Regions from separate parts of the Homo sapiens genome. Here region 1 is linked to region 2. The links are contacts of gene promoters, found by promoter capture Hi-C in blood cells and fetal thymus (Javierre and others, 2016). All regions are on one chromosome and are shown on one strand. Each heading gives the region's core, a stretch centred on a gene start or on the middle of the fragment in contact. The rest is flanking DNA. Distances are from core to core; before and after follow the strand shown. Region 1 has its middle 59 kb from the start of MYO3A. Region 2 holds the start of GAD2 (glutamate decarboxylase 2).

What was found. Contacts are between HindIII fragments. The CHiCAGO score rates a contact against its expected background, and 5 or more counts as called.
Region 1: a fragment that was not itself captured here is called in contact with the fragment with the promoter of GAD2 in region 2 in 1 of 17 cell types (total B cells); the score reaches 5.8 in total B cells.

What each region holds. Positions count from the first base shown.
Region 1 is chr10:25,871,769-25,878,317 of GRCh38, reverse strand. No RefSeq gene overlaps it. Among named protein-coding and RNA genes, the nearest start is that of MYO3A, 59 kb to the left of the region's middle. RefSeq lists a silencer at 2,474-2,653. The HindIII fragment of the contact is 1,055 bases long and covers 2,602-3,656 here.
Region 2 is chr10:26,213,144-26,218,789 of GRCh38, reverse strand. GAD2 (glutamate decarboxylase 2) reads right to left here and starts at 2,016. Exons shown (of 16, transcript NM_001134366.2): 1 at 1,905-2,016; 2 at 1,121-1,180; 3 at 799-948. The coding sequence starts at 1,980. RefSeq lists enhancers at 64-692, 3,302-3,868, 3,869-4,434, 4,435-5,002. The HindIII fragment of the contact is 6,458 bases long and covers 1-5,646 here.

The DNA of each region.
Region 1 (6,549 bases), core at 1,880-4,379, 340 kb after region 2:
CACATGGTTCTCAACAGGGTTCACGCTCCTATGAGACTCTAATGCTGCTGCTGATCTGACAGGAGGTAGGGCTCAGGTGGTACTGTGAGTGATGGGAAGCATCTCTAAATATAGAGGAAGTTTTGCTCACTTGCCCACCCTAACCTCCTGCTGTGCAGCCTGGTTCCTAATATGCCACAGATCAGGACGGATCTGTGCCCTGGGGGTTGGGGAGCCCTGCCACAGCAGACACTAAAAATAGAAACTTTTCTTCATATATATGTATATATCTCTATTATTGGCTCTGGCTCATATTCTTATGTATTTATTTATTTTAGACACAGGGTCTCACTGTTGTCCGGGCTGGAGTGCAGTGGTGTGATCATGGCTCACTGCAATCTTGAGCTCCTGGGCTCAAGGGACTCTTATGCTTCAGCCTCCCGAGCAGCCAAGACTATAGGCATGAGCCTCCAAGCCTGGTCTACATATTCTAACTGGTTTAAAAAAAAATGTTGCACTTAACTAGTTACTTTGAAATGACAGTTTACAATAATGGAATTTAATTTAGCATACAGTTATTTTAGCAGATACTGAGATAATAATTCATGACCTGGGAGATGTCCCTAAAACTAAACATTCCTTCAGAGCAGTTAACTATTCTATTGAAAAGACTAATTTTTAAAAAAGAACCTTGTGGCTAAGCAACACAAAGATTTAAACTCTATTGACTGTCTTAGTGTAAATTTTCACTTGCTCTTCATGTGGAATCATGAGAGTTTGTCAGATGGAGCTGAGACAGAAATAAAGGCTCATGTGGGAGGCTGAGGCTGCCAGTCAAAGGGCTCACTATTGACTCACTCCCACTGGGAGACTGGGATGCCAGGACCTTCCACAATTTGATTGTTCACTGGGTTCTAACACCAAACCCAAGTCCACTCTGTCCACCTTGGGGATCTCATTATTAGAACCATCTATCAGCTGCCTCACTTTGCCAACATTAACTAGAAATGTGATTTCAATTCTGTATATCAGAAATGCAATTAAAATACATTGATTTTATTAATGAGTTTCATATTTCACAAAAGATTTGATGGAAAACAGATTTTTTTGAGACATTTCAAGGACTTTTCATAAGATATAAGTCTTCCCCCAAATCTTTGAGATGTGTTTTTTATCCCCATTTTACAGTTGAGGAATTTAAAACTTGGGATATGATGATAGTTTGTATCTAACTCCAGATTTATTTATTTATTTATTTATTTATTTATTTATTTATTTATTTATTTATTTATTTTTGAGACGGAGTCTCGCTCTGTCGCCCAGGCTGGAGTGCAGTGGCGCGATCTCGGCTCACTGCAAGCTCCGCCTCCTGGGTTCACGCCATTCTCCTGCCTCAGCCTCTCGAGTAGCTGGGGCTACAGGCACCCGTCACCACGCCCAGCTAATTTTCTGTATTTTTATTAGAGACAGGGTTTCATCGTGTTAGCCAGGATCGTCTCGATTTCCTGACCTCGTGATCCGCCCACCTCGGCCTCCCAAAGTGCTGGCATTACAGGCGTGAGCCACCGCACCCGGCCAACTCCAGATTTATTTGACTCCAAAGTTTGTGTTCTTTCATTTATCCTTACTTTTCCTCAAAAGAAAGGAGGCTAAAGCTATTGACTAAAAGAATGTTTAGAGATTAACAAATGCATTTCAACCCTGTATCCAATTCCTGTTACTATTACCAAAGATCTGAACAACCACAGAAACAGCTTATAACCTACCAAAACTCCAGAAGCAGTAAGTAGCATTAACCTCAAACAGGGAATCCGAACAACAAAATTCCTCTATAAAATATTTAATGACATTTTAACTTAGCATATGAGTAGTAATTCTCCTGAGAATAAAGCTGTTGTCTTGGATGAATATCATACCAGATTTAACTTATTATATGAGTAGTAATTCTCCTGAGAATAAAGCTGTTGTCTTGGATGAATATCATACAGGAGGTTGCTTATGAAACTGACACCTGGAATCCACTCCCACACTTACCCATGTTGTTCCCTTTTATGTTGATGTTACAGCCAGTTAAAAACAATTCTATCTGGACAGGTAGGTATGGTTAATAGCTAAGGTATTGTTAGCCATTAACATTTTGTTTCAAATTAGATAACCAGATTAACAAACTGGCCACTTAATAAGCCCCTCCTAGGAAATAGAAGCTAGGACATGTTAATTTTGAGGGAAGAGGTCAGAAAATTAGCAGAACATTGAATAAGTTTGGGTGGAATTCTGCATTGAAAAATAATTCCTGATGTGAAGAAAGACTCCATAAACCTCCATTAAGATGCTCTTCAATTCTAACATTTTATAATAAAATAATGTTACAGACAAGTGAACATTTTTATAACCTCATTTTTCTTAGGGTCAATTTTGCATAAAAAGAAAGTAAATCAATACCAGTTTCTGAAATTTCGAATATAGGAAATCATGCAAACAAAAACTCCCGCCATAATCCCTTGACAATATCTCTTCTCAGTGTACCCAAGAAGGCCAAAGGGTACCGTGACTGTCGAGCACACCAAGCTCCACGCGCCCTCTAGTGCATCCCTCTGGAAATGCAGCTACTAGTCCTAAGCTTAGGTATTTTCTCTGTTAAGAAAACAATTTCCAGAGCAGCTGTACTTAAAATCTGTTTATCCTGCATAGCCAACTCACCCTGAGGTGTTTCTCCAGGGTTCACATAAATTCGTTAAGTTAACTTAATCATTTCCCATCTATTCTCAAAGTTGACTTACAAGAACTCATAAAATATGACAAAATTGAAAACATTAGGCTGCATTGGATGAGAAAAGATAACAAGGGTGAGGCAAAGTGATCAAGAAATTAAATCAAAATACATGTAAAATAACAACTGACCATCCTCCCATCGATGATATATTTAGCTGTGTATTAATCAGGATGCACCAGGTTCTACTATGGTAAAGACAGCTCCCAAATCTCAGGAGTTTTTGACAACAGTGCTTTAATTTCTCTTTCGTTACAGATCTCAGGCTTATTTTTGGTTTCTAAGCGAATGGAGCAGCCATTGTCACTCACACTGCCTGCCACCATGGCAGAGGGGAAGAGCTTTGAAAAATCTTGCATTAGCAATTAAATGCTCTGATCACATCATTTCTACTCACTCTCATTGGCCAGAACTTGCCTCATGTCTCTACCCACAAGAGAGGGGAAAAGTCAGGTCTTCCATGTGTAAGGAGAGGAGGCAGAAATTTGTGGACAGCTGAAAGCCCACTACAGCGTTCCCAGGCAGGGTCAAAAAGGAAACCAGAACAGATCTGACTCAGAGTGTTCATGAAATTAAAAGCAAATACAACAGCTCAGTAAAATTCCAAGTCTTTTTGATTCTAGGGTCAGACAAGAATTTCTCCAGGATTCCTCATAGGACAAGGTATAACATAAATCATGTCATCATAATGCATTTGTGGCCTTTTCTTATAAGGCTCTTGTATAGGTTTATGACATTACAATAATCTACAGTTTGTCTAAACAATACTCTCTGGAAGAGTCGAATTATAGGTATCTTCCTCTTTGCTAAACTTCTGCATCAGAGACATATGTAAGCATTCCACCTTGCACACTGTGTTTAGTTATTTGAAGGGCAGTGAACACTAGGTTGTGTTCTCGAGGAAGCTTCTGGACAAGAGCTAGTTCTTTGCTTATAGGTGAGAACCAACTCACCTTCCTTCTCCCTTCCCTTCCCATCCCTTCCCTTCCCTTCCCTTCCCTATCCTTCCCCTCCCTTCCCCCTTCCCTTCCCTTCCCTTCCCTTCCCTTCCCTTCCCTTCCCTTCCCTTCCCTTCCCTTCCCTTCCCTTCCCTTCCCTTCCCTTCCCTTCCCTTCCCTTCCCTTCCCTTCCCTTCCCTTCCCTTCCCTTCCCTTCCCTTCCCTTCCCTTCCCTTCCCTTCCCTTCCCTTCCCTTCCCTTCCCTTCCTTTCCTTTCCTTTCCTTTCCTTTCCCTCCTCTCTTCTTCTCTTCTCTTTTTCTTTTTCTTGACAGGGTCTTGGTCTGTCTGCCAGGCTGAAGTGTGCCATCATAGCTCACTGCCAGCAACGTCAAACTCCTAGGCTCAAGTGAACCTCTCACCTCAGCCTCCCAAGTAGTTAGGACTACAGGCTCATGCCTGGCTAATTTTTTAATTCTTTTTTTTTTGTAGAGACTGGGTCTCACTATGTTGCCCAGGCTGTTCTCAAGCAATCCTCCCTCCTTGGCCTTCCAAAGCACTGGGATTACAGGCATGACCCACTGCATCTGGTTCCAAATTATCTTTCTTAATCATGATCAACTAAGGGTTGGTTAAGATCCAAATATGGAAACTGAGGAGCCAAGAGGGGCTCTTTCGTAACCAGAATCCATGCTAGTGTTCTGAGGTGAGCTGAGAGAGGAACCAAAATTTGGGCCAAGATCGTTTCCAGACAGTTCTGAATTTTTCTAATTGTACAGATAAGTGGTCAATTAATAGATTTTCCATGGTTCTATTTCATTGCCAGGGGCAAAATAGTTTTAGCCTGAAATTTGTAAGACAAGGCATAACTAGACCTTCATTTCAGCCACCTTAAACTACCATCCGAATGCCCAGGTTTGAACAATTCTACTTCTAGAAGAATCCACAATAAAACAAATGTTTGAGAAGGCTTTCCATCCTGAACTTTTATAATAAAATAATGTCACAAATTTTATAATAAAATAATACTATTTTATTAATAATAATTTTGCCTAGGAATTCTATGTATTACCAATTTAAAAGCTGGAGACTTGTCTTCTAAAACAATAATAATAATAAACTTTAATTGACTGTTTGCTGTGGCCAAGCAGTGTGGTAAGTAAGCACTTCAAATGTAGTATCTCATTTAATTTTACGGGCAAAATCTGTTACTACTCCTAATCTACAGATGAGGTAGAGTGAGGTCATATAATTTGTCTAAGGTCAAACAGGCTAACAAATGATAGAGCTAAGGGTTTTGACAAGACATCTAAATCTAGAACACATGTGCTTAGCAACTACATTTTCACCTTTCATGAATAATATCTTCATTTTTAGGAAAATATAGCTATGGTTCTTATGCAGAGAGATAATTTACTAGCAGGGTCAGTACTTGTCAGCTTTAGATAGTAAAAGCATCAACTGCATATGGAGGCAAACTGGTTTTCCTACTTTTGGTACACCAGCTGCACCCAAAATTGGTAATTGATTGACTACTAGAAAACAAGTTTGGGTTTTTTTTGTTTGTTTTTTTTGTTTTTTGTTTTTTTTTAAAGGGACTCAGCAAAACTGCTGTGTTTTCCTTTGCAGGAAGATTTATTTTATTTTATTTTATTTTTCAACTTTTATTTTATGTTCCAGGGCACACGTGCAGGAGATGCAGGTCTGTTACATAGGTAAACGTGTGCCATGGTGGTTTGCATTTTTTTAGGTACAATGTCTTGCTCTGCTGCCCAGGCTGGAGTGCAGTGGTGTGCTTATGGTTCACTGTAGCCTCGACCCCCCTGGGCTTAGGTGATCCTCCTGCCTCAGCCTCCCAAGTTACTGGACTACAGGCAAGTGCTACCATGTCCAGCTATTTTTTTTAATTTTAATTTTTGTAGATATGGGCATCTTGCCATGTTGCCAAGCTTGGTCTTGAACTCCAGGCCTCAAGCAATCCTCTCGTCTCAGCCTCCCAAAGTGCTGGGATTATAGCCATAAGCCACTGTGCCCGGCCTGCAGGAAATTTTAACTACTGTCAGAAAGCCACTCCCACCGTCTCTTGTTCATATTAATATGGTTTAGTTCTCCATGAGCACCAAAACCCAAGGATCTATAACATTCTCCTACAACTTAGTCCCAAAACAACTTTTGTTCTGGAATTAAAGGCAAAAAAAAAAAAATCCTATTTAGTGTTGCAGACTTTGACCTACATCTGATGGCTTAAACAGCTGTCCACACTGCACTTTGTTCAGGAAACTAGCTTCAAGTAGCTCATTTTCAACAAACTTATCCTGGGTAAAGAGCACAACATCAAGTGGCAGTACTGCTGAGTTGTCATCGTCATCATCCACACAGGCAGCCCAAAGTCTCTTTGTCTGAAATGTTCTGGTTCTCTTGAAAGAGGTCATTCCTAATGTGTGAAGTACTTTTGAAGGATGATCTTCCATGCTAGTCATTGTGTTTTGATACTTATTGATTGAGAAAATATGTGATGACAAATACTACTGTAAATTCAGCCTCATCTTTGAGTGCATTTATGTAACTCTACTAGTAATCACATCCCTACCTATATATATTTTATTTATATTCGTACATATACAGCATTTATTCAGTCTATAAACAAAGTTTAACCCATATATGAACTCAAAGACACCTTATAGTAGCTCCAAGACATCCAGGACTTATTACAAATAAGTTGAATATACCTATTTTCTACTTTCATGAACTCTCTAAAGCTACTAACAGTTCTCTTCACACCCCAACCCCTCCATCCCCACCCCACTGGAACTCCATGAAAATTTTATAACTTTGAAGCCAAAACAAAATCTGAAGTAGATAGA
Region 2 (5,646 bases), core at 767-3,266:
CTTTTTTTGAAGAGCGTGTACCTCCGTTTATCTAGTTCACAGGAGTTCGTCTTAAACGTGTTTCTCAGTAAACCATCTTACATGTTTACATAAATATTTCACGTCAGAAGTGTTTGTCTCGAATGCCTTCGGGCAAACCAAAGTGGAACAGGTGCATTAGGATCTCTGGTCTGATAGGAAGGCCCGCTGTTTCTAAAGTCAGTGTGTGTGTGTGTGTGTGTGTGTGTGTGTGTGTGTGAGAGAGAGAGAGAGAGCGTATGCATGTGTGTCTGCATGTGTGTGTGCGCGCGTACATTTGGGAGACGGTGTGTAAGTGCACGGGGGTAAAACTCGGCGCGCGGGTTTCATGTGAATGGAATCGTTCTCTTGTGCAATTGCAGCTACAAATCACTCTCGTGATCTAAAGACCTAAAAAAAATGCAATTCTGAATTCTCGGGCACGGTATTTGGAAACTGAGTCCCACCCGAGGCCCCAGCGGCCTAGGGAAGCCAGCCGTCATCGATTCAGTGAGCGCACGAGCGCCTGGATCGTCGGCCACCCGCCATCCCAAGGGCCGCGCTGGGGGAAGAGCGCCACGGCCTCAGAGCCCTCTTGGAGCTCCGAGGCCAGGTTCGGGGGCTTGGACCCAGCGGGCAGGTCCCGCATTTCTCGCTTTTATCTGAAGATTCTGGCAGGTCCCGCCTCCGCTGCCACCTCGACGCCCCTGTCCGGCTCTCAGCGCCGGACCCGCACCGGCCGCGGTGGGCGGGGCAGAGAGAGGGGCAGGGGCGCCCCGGGGCTCCCCGCTGAGTCTTTACCTGTTGCATGGAGAAACGCGTAGTTGACATCCACTTTGGAGCAGCTGCAGGGCTTCTGGTCGCAGGCGCAGGCGGCCTTCCGGGCGGCGGCCCGCGGGGGTTGGCTCCCGCCGCTCTCCGCCGGCTTCTCGGCGTCTCCGTAGAGCAGGGCTGGGTAAGGACACCGAACGCGGGCCTCGTCAATCCTCCGCCGGGCCCGGCTCCCTCGCTCCCGCCTACCCGCAGCCAGGAAACCCCGACTCCGCTGACTGGGATGCGGAGGTGAGAAGACTGCTTGGACCCCGCGGGCCGACCTTGGCCGCCCCGGTCCCTGGGCACTCACCGCACAGTTTGTTTCCGATGCCGCCCGTGAACTTCTGAGCCACTTGGCACCAGGCTCGCGCTGCAAGGAAGAATAGGCAGGCAGACAGCGAGGCAGAAAGAGAACAACAGACGGACGTGTGAAATTTCGTTCTATGTGAAAATCAATCAGTCCGGGGTCCTAGGAGGGGCCGCCTTCCTCCTGGGGGCCGCTCAGGACTCGGTGAGGCCGGCAGGTGCAGAAGGCAAGCGGGAGGCTGGCGGCCCGGGCCAGCCCTCATTTCCTTTATCTGTTTCCCGAGGAGAAGCCCACACCGCTGCCCTTCCAGGTGCCAATCGGCTCAGGCAAATTCCTCTCCCTGCCTACCTTGGACGAGTTTTCCTAAACACTGAAGCTATCCATTTTTTCGCAGACTGTCTTTCTAGATAAAGAAATCTCTCACCTTTCCCATTTTTTTTTTCTATCTTCACGGTCACTCCGTCCCACCCCAGGGTCCAGACACCCGGATCTTAGCAGCGCCCCAGGACCACGGAATTCCATGTCCCCGAGACACCGCGGTCTTTGGGGGGCTCTTCCAACCTTCTGTGGAACGGGCCTGAGACTATTTGGGCGTCTTCCCAGGGTACAAGAGGCTGTAGAGGTCTTGAGCTCTTGGGCCGTCAAGGACTTAGCCCAAAAGCAGGGAGAAGCGCCCGAAGAAGTTTCCTGTTGCAGGTGGAAAAACCTCCTTCGTCTTCTCCGTAGTTCCGCAAACCCCAGACCACCGCAAAACTCGCCCGCCGCAGGCCCCCGTTCTCCTTCCTACCTGTGCCGGGATTCTCGGAATCCCCAGAGCCATCTTCCGACCCGAAAGACCAAAAGCCAGAGCCCGGAGATGCCATCGGCTTTGGAGACTGGAGCAGGTCGCCTGCGAGTGCGAGCTGCGGGCGAGCTGCCTCGGGCTTGGCCCTGCGCGCGCGTGCGTGCCCGTGTGGCGGGAGGAGGGCACCGCGCGGGGACCGGCGGGGCCGAGCGGCGAGGGCGGGTGTCACGCAGGAACAGAAAACGTGCGTGTCTGTGCGTGTGTGTATGCGAGCTGGAGACAGGGTTTAGGGACGTGGCAACCCTTTGGAAGCCGGGGAGCTTTAAAAGAGACCGGGACTACCTAAGGGTCCTCGGAGCCCGGACTCAGGAAAGCGCGGAGAGCCCCAGAGCATTTGAGGGAAAGGGAGCCCAGTGGGGATGAATGAGGGGGCGGCGGAGGAAAAAAACACGAGAGAGGGAGGGAGCTGAGTCGTGAGGATGCGAGGCAGACCATGCACGCCAGCTGGAGTCAGAGTGAGGGGGTGGGAGGCGTGCCAGCGCGTCCTCGGGCGAGCCAGAGGCGGGAAGTGCGGGCGGCCGCTGTCCCGGGTGCTGCCACAGCCGCTGCGCGCCAGCGTCAGCGAGGGGCAGACTGGGGAGACCTCGGCGAGGCGGGAAGCGTGGCCCAGAGGAGTTTTCTGTGTGCATCGATTGGGGTTTTGTTTGAGGTCTGGCTCCAGCTGAGGGGAAGGAAGCGGGGTTCCCGCGCCGTTTTCCTCCAAGCAGGTGCTGAGGTCACTGCGACCTCGAGAGCTCGCGCCCCGGGCGGGCATCAGGCGCCGTTCACGAGCCTGGGGAGGGGACGGCGGGGGAAGGGCTCCTACCCGCTGATGGGCTCATTTCAGCGCCTTGGTAGAACCTGACGCCTGCCTGCTGAACCGCGCCGTACCCGGGGGCGCACCGTTCCTGCGTAGCCAAGGGCTAGATCGCGGGACCCACCGTCCAGGCTCTGAGTGACGGCTGGGGAGAATGACTGCTGATTGAGGCAATTAAAATCCACGCTGGAGTCTACTGAGGACCTCGGGCTGGGGAAAAAAAAATAAAACGAATGGAAACTTCTTGGAAGAGAATGAGGCAGAGCGGCCAGAGTCGGCAGGATTGATGGCGGGTGGGGGATGGAATCAGGGCATTTGGTGACCTTGGCCCGCGGAGGCGTGGAAGCGCCCGCTGCTTGCGTGTAAGGGGGATCTGTGTGCGCCTGGGAGGGGAGAACAGGGTTTCCAACTAAGCAATCTCGGCTTTACAAATCCGAGTAGGAAAGAAGGCATCGCCTGCAGGGCCCTCGTTTTAAGGGGCTTCAAACCAATGCCCCCCCTCGCCCCCAGAGAATCTTCGCGGTAGCGGGTGACCCGGAAGCGCGAGATTGGTTCTCTCTGAGGCGTATTAGGAGGCGGTTTCTCTTTTTCTAATAAAGAAAGGAGGAGAAAGTCAGAATCGTTCTGATGATTTCCTTTCTACAAAAAGCTATTGCAGACAGGGAGGACGCCCTAAGGATTGGGAGCCCTTTGACAGTTTGCGCTGCGTTCTCCTGGCAGTGGAGATGAACTTCAAGTGCACCTCGGAGCTCCGGGGCTCTGGGGGAGACGGAGGGAGGGAGAGAGAGGAAAGGGCTGAGGTCGGCTTCCCGAGGCGGCTGCCTTCCCCGCGCCTGGCCAGAGCGCCTGTCATTTCCATTGTGTTCACAAGTCGTTTTATTTCTCTGACCTCCTGAACCAGCCACCAAAGCTGCTAACAAAGCAGAGACCCGGGGATCCCGTCTGGGCGAGCACCCCTCGACCCTCGCTTAGAAGGGACATCCTGGGGCCCATGCTGGACGCATACAGGCCCAAGTCCTGTGTGCTCGAGCATAACTGTCCCTGGTCAATTCTCTCCACAAAGCGCTGTCTTCTTCTCGCGTGCCTGAGTCCAGGGGTTCCCTGAGGAGTCATGGGATCCACACTATGGCAACTGGGCCCAGGCGCCAGGATGAGAGCAGGAAACCAGTCGGGCGTTGATAGCGTCCTGCCGAAGGCTGGCACTGAGCGTGCTAGGTGAAGTCTGTTCCAGGCTGTGGGAGCCCGGGTGGTCGAAAACTCAGGGCTCAGTTTGGCTCCTCTTTCTTGCTCTCCTGGCTCTGACACTCTAGGTCACCACAATAACAACTCCGGAAACCTAAAGACTTGTGGTTCAGCCATCTGCACTTCAGGCATGGCAGCTCCGCAGCTCTCTCCAGCCTCGCAGAGGCTGGTTCTTTGTTGAAATCCATATCAAATCCTGCAAAGGTTTTCCTTCAAGCCAGCAGTCTAGGGTTGCAGAACTTTTCTACTATGGATGAGTGGTTGAAAACATAAAGGTTCTTAAAAGCAAGCGTTTAAATCACACAAAACCCCCAAAGAAGAAACGGATTAAAACACCTGAATTTAACTGATTTTTTTTTCTTTTTGGTAAAGCAATGGCTTCAAGTGCTACCGTTTAAACTCCATTAAATCCCACAGCTCTGGAGTACTTTGGATCTAATGGTGATATTTACATTTTTTATTTAAACACACCCTACTTCAGATGCAGATGGAGATCTGATTTGTCTTTCCTGAAGGCTGTCCCTCCCTAGACGGTAATTTGCTTTGTAATGACTTTCATTTCACTAAAGAGCCCATTCCCCCTCTCCGGGGCTTGGGGTTGGAGATAACAAAAGAGCTCTGGGAGGTAATAATTACAGTCATTAGTTCACAAAGGAGGCAGCCAGTGAATGGGAAGGGAAGGCGGCCGCTTTGGAAGGCCCTTCCTCAGATGAGGGGCGAGAGACCCAATCCTCCGACTTGTAGGGACAGTTTCCTTAGGTGTCTGGTTTACCAACATATGGGTCTCAGGCTGACCCAAAGAAGAGTGTCTGGCACACATTTTCCTGTGTCCTTCCCGTGCTTAAATGTCAAAGGACAGAGAAAGAAGGGAAGATGGAAAGAAAAAGAGGAAACAACCACGGAAGAACACAAAAATATTGCAACCAAGCATTCACCAAGCCTTTGCCATTCTCTTTTCTATTCTCACTTAAAACATTGGTGCAGGAAAAATTTAGGGAGGGAGTCTGTTGCCTCCCTCCATAAATTCTCCCTACACCAACAGAAATAACAGAAGGGGCTGAGTGCCAGGGCTCTTGTCTTCAGGGGCCACCCAAGAAGGACGCCTAGATTGAAGGGTGGCCAGGCAGAAAAGCTGAGCTTAGCTTACTGCTCCTTACCCCTGGCCCCTGCTCCGCCCTCCCCACAAACCCAGGCCTTCTGGAGGCAAGTGGACAGGCAGCTAGAGGTGGAAGGGGGCCAGGCCACTTTGGGCTTTAGACACCCCTGCCCCTCCCAAGCCCCTCTCTCTGGTGACCTGCTGTGCTGGTTTCCTGGGTACTGGGCCATACTCAGCTCCTCAGTGCATTCGCACAGCTGAGGGTTACTCCTTACTTTCAGTCGCAACCCCAGCAAGACTGTGCCGCTAACCCAGGGAAAAAGAAGGCCTGGAGGGCACTTGGACTCTGCCATGCCATAGCTGCAGGTTTTCCCTTGGCCACATTGCATCTGTAAAATGAAGAGATTACACGAGTTGGCTCTGGGGACCTTTTGGTGCCAACTCTTTGAGTTGGCGAGATTACTATGCCCTGTGGACCAGCGGCGCAACAAACGCTCTGAGCCCTCTGCACATGCCCTCACTCACTCCTCGAATATTTCCCCAGAGTCTTT